Regions from separate parts of the Homo sapiens genome. Here region 1 is linked to region 2. The links are contacts of gene promoters, found by promoter capture Hi-C in human tissues and cell types (Jung and others, 2019). All regions are on one chromosome and are shown on one strand. Each heading gives the region's core, a stretch centred on a gene start or on the middle of the fragment in contact. The rest is flanking DNA. Distances are from core to core; before and after follow the strand shown.

What was found. Contacts are between HindIII fragments. The study calls those that stand out against the background at their distance.
Region 1: a fragment that was not itself captured here is called in contact with the fragment with the promoter of SAMD5 in region 2 in 1 of the 25 tissues and cell types used here (adrenal gland).

Annotation. Positions count from the first base shown.
Region 1 is chr6:147,637,969-147,642,895 of GRCh38, forward strand. It overlaps a transcript of SAMD5 not described here. Among named protein-coding and RNA genes, the nearest start is that of SAMD5, 130 kb to the left of the region's middle. The HindIII fragment of the contact is 5,985 bases long and covers 1-4,399 here.
Region 2 is chr6:147,506,714-147,511,351 of GRCh38, forward strand. SAMD5 (sterile alpha motif domain containing 5) reads left to right here and starts at 1,977. Exons shown (of 2, transcript NM_001030060.3): 1 at 1,977-2,674. The coding sequence starts at 2,216. RefSeq lists a silencer at 129-178. The HindIII fragment of the contact is 17,257 bases long and covers 1-3,564 here.

The DNA of each region.
Region 1 (4,927 bases), core at 157-2,656, 130 kb after region 2:
AACTAATGAAAATTAGAGTGTGTTAGCATATCACATTCCTACAGAGACCTGCTAATACATTCAATTACACTTCGTAATGGTAATGGAGACTACAGAGAAAAGCTTTGCCATTTATACCTGCTTGACTGAGTGTTCTCTCTCTCTCTCCCTCCCTCTCTCTCCCCACCAAAAATTTGGGAAAAATATAGCGTAATGCAAAGGAAGTCATTTTCGATGCTATTTTTAAACGTGTCTATTTCTGAAAATGCATTGCTTCTCGATAAGAAACAGGATAGTGATGGCACACGTAACTTACTTCTTATTTATCAGTTAGGAGCATTAGCATTAGTCCATTTATCTAAACTACTGAAATTTTTCCTTCTGCTCACCAAAGACTTCAAAGAAATTTAATAAAGGTATTTTTTCTGCCTAAATATATACTTTGGCAATTTGATTTTGTTTTAAAGTAGGATAATTACATTTTCTCCATCCATTCTGTGAATCACAGCTCCCTTGTGAATTCCTTTGAAAACCCTGATGAGGAATGGAAGATGTGAGTGACTGGTGTGTGATCGTGTTGATGTTTTCTCATCTCCTGAGCCTGGTTTGAAATTCAGCTCTGCCCAGCAGGACTTGCCCTCAGTTTTGAGGCATTATTTTGAGATGTGTGGGCTCGGGTAACTGTGTGTGCGTGGCCAGTGGGTTGGCCAACTCATCTTCTGGCAAATAAGTGTGGGAGACCTCAATCCTTGATGTCAAACACTTTTATAGCCTATTATGGAATAAATTGAATGCAGATTTATTCTTCATAAATGTGTCAGTTTCAATATTTTCTGTTTTACATGATGAACTTCTGGAATTCAGAGACAGTGCTAGTAAATTGATTTTGTGTTACCTGTAATATGGATTTTGACAAAAAATTTAACAATACATTTCTTTACTAGATAATGACTTAGTAAGCTAGTGTTTTCTAATATGTTTATTAATTTGTTTGTATCAGATCAAATACTGGCTGATTTTTCCCAATGAGATCGAAAAGTTAGGACAGATATATAGACTTTGGCTGACCTGGGTGAGTTCTGTGCCAGGCATTGTGCTATCTATTGTGATTCTAAAGATAGACAAGGCGGAGTTAGTTATTTAAACTGCAAATTGCGAGTACTTGGCAAATGAAAGTTATTCATTTTCTGACCTTTTTTGAATTTTCTAGTCTTGGAATCCATGACAGGAAGCCAGAATTTCTAGCTTTGATGTGGTTTCAATTTGATGTAGTCTAAGCAGAATACTATAATTGTATGAATTAAGAAAATATAAAAGAACAATTAATGAAGTAGATAATTTTTAAAATGAGAAACATTATTCATTATTTGGTCTATGAAAATATACATGTATCCAAGATAGGATATTAAAGTTTTATTCTATGTAGCCCACACATATATTTATGCATGTGAATGGTATTTTCAATACACTTTGTGCATAGCTGTGTTCAGATCCCTCAAAGCACAGCCCGTGATGAGTAAGAAAGACTGTAGCTGCAGCTCTGGGGTCCCCGAGGAGCTATGGCTCATCCTCATCTCAGCGGGCTTCACTCCCAAGGGGTGGGTGCTACATCTCCATCCTCCCCTGTCCCAGCAACATTCTCCTCTTTTGTTAGCCAGGAATCCTGGAAGAATAGCAAGAGCAGAGGGTAGCATAAGGCTTGTGTTCCTTCCTAACTGCTGCCTTTCTGATTAGGAAGCATTGAAAAAGGTGCCTGTGTTTCCTCTGCATCTTTCTTTGGGAGAATTTTTCATGTAAATCATGAGATAAGAGTTATTCAGATTGATCAGTTTGAACATCCATTCTGTTTTGGTTGGCAGTCATGCTCTAAAAACTTCAGTGTAGATCATTTTTAATAACCATATGGAAACAAGGGCAATTTCTAATTGAGATTTTTTTTTTCTTTTCTATTAGAACAGGTTGCCACTGACTGTAAAGGGAAAGAATATTGGAAGTTATTTTTAAAGGTAGAGATGGGAGAAAGGAGTAATTTGAAATCTGAATTGTTCAGCTGCCGTCACACACATTATGGCTAAAAAGCTTCATGGTAAAGAATGACGGCTGGGCGCGGTGGCTCATGCCTGTAAATCCAGCACTTTGGGAGGCTGAGGCGGGCAGATCACGAGGTAAAGAGATCGCGACCATCCTGGCCAACATGGTGAAACCCTGTCTCTACTAAAAATACAAAAATTAGCTGGGTGTGGTGGCACGTGCCTGTGGTCCCAGCTACTCCAGAGGCTGAGGCAGGAGAATCGCTTGAACCCGGGAGGTGAAGGTTGCAGTGAGCTGAGAATCCATACCACTGCACTCCAGCCTGGTGACAGAGTGAGACTTCATCTCAAAAAAAAAAAGAAAAAAAAAATTGCCGGGTGTGGTGGTGTACACCTGTAATCCCAGCTACTCCGGAGGCTGAGATAGGAGAATCACTTGAACCTGGGAGGTGGAGGTTGTAGTGAGCTGAGATCACGCCACTGTCCTCCAGCCTGGGTGACAAGAGCAAGACTCTGTCGCAAAAAAAAAAAAAAAAAAAAAAAAAGAATAACAGACATAAAATTAAGCAGAAGTCTGCAAAATCTAGTCAAGATTCAAGGAGGAAGCCTTAAGCATGGTTAATGCTAAAGTTTTTCTCACATATTGAAGAAGGACATATTATTAACTTCAACATTTACCCAAATAAACCAGTCCCATCCCATTTAAAACAGGTTCAATGGGAAGCATCATTATTAAAATAAATAAAATTGTATGATGATGCTATTTCCTCAATACCAAAGTGGAAAAGCACCTAGAAAAGTTGCCAAGCCAAACAGCCACAGGCTTTGCAAGATTGTGCATCAATGCTATTGACCTACAAAGTTAGACCTGAGGACTTTGTCTTTAAGATCACTTAGATTCTTATCTTGTTGCTTAGCAATTAAGTATTTTTTAATTTAATGTTAGCTTCCCTTGTCCTGCCTCCTCACCTCCTCAAAAATCCCTTTGAAAATTCGCTAGACTCTTGTAGAAACTTTAAAATTGCATAATAGTAAGTTTGATTCCTTAATCCTCTGTAAACCTGCTTTAACATCCAGTAGACGTTAACAATGGTTGGACACTGATGGATAGTGATTGCTTTGTTGAATGGGGTGGGACACAGGATCTCAGAAGCTCAGCTTTTTAACCCAATCTCTAAATTCTTCTTCATATGAGAGCCTCCTGAAATGCCCAGCTCCAGCAATTAAGATATCTGATTCAAATATGGATGTCCAACATTGGAAGATTTCCTCCAAGAATTTCTTTTCTCACATTTCTTCATTTTAATGGGCTTCGGCAGCACATGATGAAATTTTCTGCCCACTTGCTGGGGAGCTCAATTTGGGGGCTTCATTGGCTACGGTGAAGTCAAAGGACCCTCATCACAATATATGTGATGGAGCAATTGACCTTTATTTGGAAGATGGACCTTTTGTACCTGGTAAAGTGAAGTGCTCAGGAGACAGCCAGAGAAAGCAGGGGCACGTCGCAGACATTTTGCATGTCAGGACAACCTTTTCAACTTGGTTTTTGCCTTGTAAAACAAACTAACTCTCTTTCTCTGTCTTTAATTTTTTTTTTTTTTTTTGCTCAAAAGTTTAATGGTTGTATGCCCATATTCTCATAAGTTTTCAAAATGTCTGTAACGAGTGTGTGTACTTTTAAATGATGATTCAGATCTTAGCTTTTTAAGAGTTATGTACATGGTTAACATCCAGCGGTCTCAAAACTCCGCTGTGCTCTTTTCTTCACTGTTGCCAAGCCTTTGTGGTTACAGAATCTTTTAACTTTACCTGTAAACTTTAAATAACTTAACTTTTAATGTTTTGAAGTAATCTTGTTTGTTTCTTTAGAGTTTGAATTCATGCTTACCTAAAATCATTTTCCCCTCAATTTATTTATAAAATGCTTAGAAGGAAATCTTATTCTTAGAATACTTATTTTTTCTGTCATACAACAATGACAGTCTAACATGAAGATGTTTGATTTATTTTCCTATTTTATTGTTCTGCTTTAATTCATACAGATCCAGAAGTAATGAATTATACCTTTTGTTAAAACTTTCTCTTTTGTTTAATGGAAAGTGAACAACAGGGTTGTTATACACACATTACAAAACTTTTTTCTTTTTCTTTGTAAGAAAATAATGAGCTAGACTGCAACCACACTGTAAGAATGTTTGTGGCATTTGTGATTATTTCTCTGTTTTAAGAAGTCCATTTCCTCTTTCTTACTTTAAAAATTGGATAAAAGTTTTTATCTTTTTGTTCTTTTCATTCTACCTATTGTCTTAGTGCATTTAATTCTATATGACAAGGGGCTGTGAAAAAGATCTCGAATAATGTTCCCATTGGTAGATGTGCTGCCTCTCTCAGCCTCAGTTTCCTCATCTGTAAAATGAGAGAGTTGTATGAGATGATCCCAGAGGTCTCACAAAGCTCTAAGTTAGGTGCCACTTTAATGATACCAGTGAGCAAGATGAACAAGTCATTTCAGTGGCTGAATTACCCTGCTCATGTTCCACATTCTTGAGATGTGACCTTTACATTCAAACTGCGAGTTCGTCATCTCTGGATTCCCTGAAAGACATTCATTCTTAAAGATGTCTGCCAGCGGCCATTTAGCCCAACCCTTTCATTTTCCAGATAAGAAAAATAAAACAGTGTTTTATTGAAACATCAATAGGAAAGCATATAAACTGACTTTTTGTTTTCTTTCTAATAGCTATGCAATCCCAGTCTTACTATAAATAATCCCAAACTAAGGCTTCAAAACCACAAAACTCATTCTGTAAACATTCTGTCTAAGGCTAAGACCTACCTACTGCCTCTATGGGAGCCCTTCTCTCCTGCCTGGGGTGCAGGGCCTCAGTGCTAATATGAACAGGGTCCCAGTCGTT
Region 2 (4,638 bases), core at 727-3,226:
GCCCACTTTCTTCTGCTGAATAGAATGAGTTTGGGGACAGGGACAACGCCTTAAAATGGGTCAACGCGCGGACGCGAGGGGGCACTGTGAGTCCGCTTTGGCGAGGGAGAGGCGGCGGCCCGCGCGGGGCGGGGAGGGCTGCGCCCTTCCAGCATCCCAGCGCCCAGGAGCTTCGCCACCTACCAGGGTCCGAGACCTTAACTCGGTTCCGGAAAGGGCGTCCCGGGTGACCCAAGTTTGGGGCCACAAGCAGCTCCACCGGCTCTCCGCGTTGGTCTCTCCCCTCCCCCTAAGCAGACAGTCCTTTCTGCCAGCTGTCCTTAATTTGAGATTCGTGAGTCCCGGGGTTTGGGAAACCAGAACCCCCCTGCGACTGTAGGGAACGTTTTGGGTGCGCCTATGTCGGGTATTTTCCTGGGCAAAAGGACAGAAGCTGTCATCTGATTCTTTAAGGGGTTCGTGTCCCAAGAGGGGGTTAAGCTCTCTTGGTTTAGGATAAGAGGGCCCACCTAACCACCCACCCAAATGCCAAACACACAGCAGGTCGAGAAACGACTCTGAAATCACTCCTTGTCCACTTCCCAAGGTCGGGCGAGAGACTGGCACGCCCCACGGGCAATCTTCAGAAAAAAAGGTCAGATCTGGTCCTTAAACAGCTCAGGTGCGAAGCTGAATCGCCCTTCTGCGGAAAGAGAGGAGACAGTACCTGCCCCCGCCGTCCCTCACTTCCCTTAGTCCCAAGAAGAGGTCAGACACCGGGAAATGGGGCCCAGGCGCTTGGTCTGTTCCACCTGCCACTCGAGTCCCCAGTCCCAAGAGGCTGCTCAGACATTGGCATGATGGGGAAACTCGATTGATTTTGTTACCTCCTAGAGGGAAAATGCCGTGGGCGGAGATGTCTGAGCGTCCCTTCCAACACGAGCTGGGTGGTGCTCTATTGATTTTCACGCGATCCCCGGGCGGGAGCGAGAGGATAGGCTCGGATTCCCGGGCTCCAGGACCGAACGCCTGGCAGTGTCCCCGGGGGCAAAGCCACCCCGGGAGCCCGTGCAGTATACTAGGTGGGGGGCCCGGAGAGAAAGCATAGCGCCGACGAGGGGGAGGGGCCGGGCAGAAAGGAGGGTGGGGTACCGGGTGGGACACACTGACCTAGGAGAAAGTACAACCCACCCCAAACTTTCGCAGACCCGGGAGCTTAGGAAGGGAGAGCCAGGAAGACAGCAGCCTCTCCTGCCGCCCAACGTGCCCAGCTGCAGCGAGGAGGGGCGGCGCGCAAGCCGGCTGGACCCGGGCGGTCCCCACGTTGCGCCCACCCTCCGGGCCAAAACGCCGCCGCTCGGGTCACTGAGTGGCCGCCCACGGAAGAAGTCAGATCGCCGGGCTCTGGGCTGCGTACGGGATCCGAGGAAGGGGGATTCAAACGCGGATCCGGAAGGAAGGGACACTGAACCCCGCAGCGTCCCCAGCGCCGTGGGGCGGCGGGACGTGTCCTTGGGCTGCCAGCGGGCGCGGAAGCTGGAGTCCGGCAGGGTCGGGAAGAAGTGAGCACAGACTTCCACGGGTAGAAGAGTCAGATTAAACAGAAATGTGAAAAGCAACCCAGGGCAGCCAACGGAGCCCAGCAGCGTAGAAGCCACCGGCTTCCCGCCGGGAGGACTACAGTGACTGACACTCGCGAAGACTAGGCGCTCCCAGCGGCCGCGGGTCTGCGTGGAGAAGTCGCCTCGCGGCGCGGAGCGCGCCAGCGGCGGCGGCGGCTGCCAGAGCGCGAGATGCGGCGCGCAGCCGCCGGACCGTCCCGGCTGGGAAAACTCGCGGGCGGCACTGCGCAGCGCTGACCCGGCGCAGGTCCGAGGGGTGTGCCCCGGCCCCTCCCGTCTCCGCCCCCTCCCGCGCCAGTCGCGCGCCCCTCCCCGCGGCGGCAGCGTCGGCGGCGCATCCAGGGGCGGCGCGGAGCCTTGCTCAGCCCAGCAGCCAGTGCCTGCGAGCTCCGCTGCTGCTTGGGGAATTCACTTTGCTGCTTGTTCGCTTCTCCCTTCCTCAGGCTTCTTCTGATGGTTTTCCGTCTCCTGCCCGAGCCTTTCCTTTAAAAGGAAAACTTTACTGCGATACCCTTTTCCCCTTGGAGGAGAGGATTAAAAGTTCCAAGAACTGGTGCCGCCCGTGCCATTTGGGCGCTGGGAAGGTGCTCGGCGGCGGGGTTCCCGGTCCCACCATGTGCACCAACATAGTTTACGAGTGGCTCAAAGCGCTGCAGCTTCCGCAGTACGCGGAGTCCTTCGTGGATAACGGCTACGATGACCTGGAGGTGTGCAAGCAGATCGGGGACCCGGACCTGGATGCCATCGGGGTGCTGGCGCCCGCGCACCGCCGCCGTATCCTGGAGGCCGTGCGCCGGCTGCGGGAGCAGGACGCCAACGCCGCCGGCCTCTACTTCACGCTTGAGCCGCAGCCGGCGCCCCCCGGGCCGCCCGCCGACGCCGTCCCCACCGGCCGCCGGGGGGAGCCGTGCGGCGGCCCGGCCCAGGGCACCCGCGGGGACTCTCGCGGCCACACGACCGCCCCCCGCAGCAGGGAGCTGGTGAGCTACCCCAAACTGAAGCTGAAGATCATGATCAGGGATAAGCTCGTCCGTGACGGCATCCACCTGAGCAAGCCCCCGTACTCCCGCAAGGTAAGGAGGTGCCGTCCGGGCGGCCCGGGGCGCGCGGCGGGAGGGGACACAGCCCAGCTGCCTGTGCCAAGGCTTTGCAACCCATTCCAGGTGACGACGGAGAGGCCAGGAGGCTTTGGGTATCTGGGACCCTTTTCTATGTTCTTTCTGTATTAGCCCATTATTTCGTCCTTCCTGGTGTCTCCAGTGGTTGGTAAGACAAGCCCCCGCATCCAGATGTTATCTCTAAACTAACGACCAAAACTCCGCATCCTCTCTGGTGCTCGCCTGTCAGGAATCGGACTCGCGCTGCTTCACCTGGTAGCCAGGGGGAATTCCTAACGCCCTCTATAGTAGTTTTGGGTTTGAAGAGTACCAGAAAAAATGGTTAATACCTACATTGCTTTCTACCTTCCTTTTTCTCTTTCTTTTCCTTTTTTGAGTCTTGAGAAACTCCTAAGGGAAATCGGTGAACTCTTTAAAGAGTGGAAAGTCAGGCCCTGCCTTTCTCAATTCCATAAAAAATCCCAGCGCTGCTGCAAATTTGAGAAGCTTACCATTCACATGAGCATTTTAAGAGGAAAAGTGAAGGAAGCACGTGTCAGTCCACTTGAGATGATTTCCTAAACTTGTGTATACTGGAGGCAATAAGGTGCTAAGGACATCAGAGATAATCGGGCCACAGGATGTGCTTCAGAGGTCTGGGCTGTCACGAGTTTGGTTTATTATTAAGCCAGATAAGATGAAGTAGGTACAACTGTGACTTCCAGGAAGTGTGAGTGGACCTGCATTTGGGAGAGGAGGACCGAGCACAAGTGAACTAAAGGGGAATCCTCTGCACCGGGGGCCTCAGGGAAGGAACCTGGAAGTTCCGAAATGTGGAGTGGGAGCTGGGTAATTAACAGAAAATGGTACTTCACACCAGAGCTCTGCTTCTAGCTGCGAGTCTGTTCCGTTTAGGTTTCTAGTTCAGGCGGCTGTCGGAGTAGAGGGTCCTGACTTGATAGAGAAGTAGACAGCACAGGTAACGCTCAGGATTGCAGAAGGTGCACAGGAATATGAGCACCTCAGCTTAAAAATCAAGACTTAGAAGAGCCCAGGGAGAAAATGATGGCAAACATACTCAGCTGGTGGGCCACAGAAACCCAACTCCCTAATAGGAAATGTGGATAATCTCAGTGTTGTGTGGGTATCTTGGGCCCTGGTAGTATTGCTGTAGAATCTTAAGTAAAGGCTGTAATGCCTGGAGTTAAGGAAGTTAAAGGGAAAGCTTTGTTAAGAGTAGATAACAATACCTAAGGTAGATGGGAATAAGGGGTTTAATATTATCTACTACCTTGCACGTACCATAGGCAATTCAGATCACCTGCTTGACCATGTTAATTGGTTTTTTAAGGAGGATACAAAGAAGGCAGGTTGGGAGGACAGAGTGCTTCAAATTAAACACGTGTTCCAGTTACCCACTCTGTGCCACTGATGTGTGCTCAAAGCAGGAAAGGAGAGAACACTTTTCCCAGGCAGTTGCCTGTATGTAGGAGTTCCATGTATGTCTGGTGTGGATAGAGAGATCTGGTCATCAGTATAAAGGCTTGGTCCTGGACACAGCAGGTCAAAGGAGATCAAAGCCAGTTAGATGTTTGTTATTAGCATCCCGGGAAGTAAGGTGGGCTTAGTCTGAGAGAATGTGAGTACCTGGGCACTTGATAAGGGCACAGTTCAAGTCCTGGCAAGAAAGGAATGCAGAGAGCAAAGTGTGTCACTAGAGCTTACTTATTCTTCAGGAAAAGTGCTGTGTAATGGGGCGGGGAGAGCAGGGACACCGTGGGCTGGAGGTGAGAAGCGTAAGCTTGAAGTGACACATTTTAGTTCTGATTCTTAAAAAGCAAAAGGCAGACCTACATATCAAACATAGAGGCTGGAAAGGATGTTAAGGGGATGAAACGTCATCAGAAATGTCAGCACATAGGCTTTGAACTCTGGTCTCC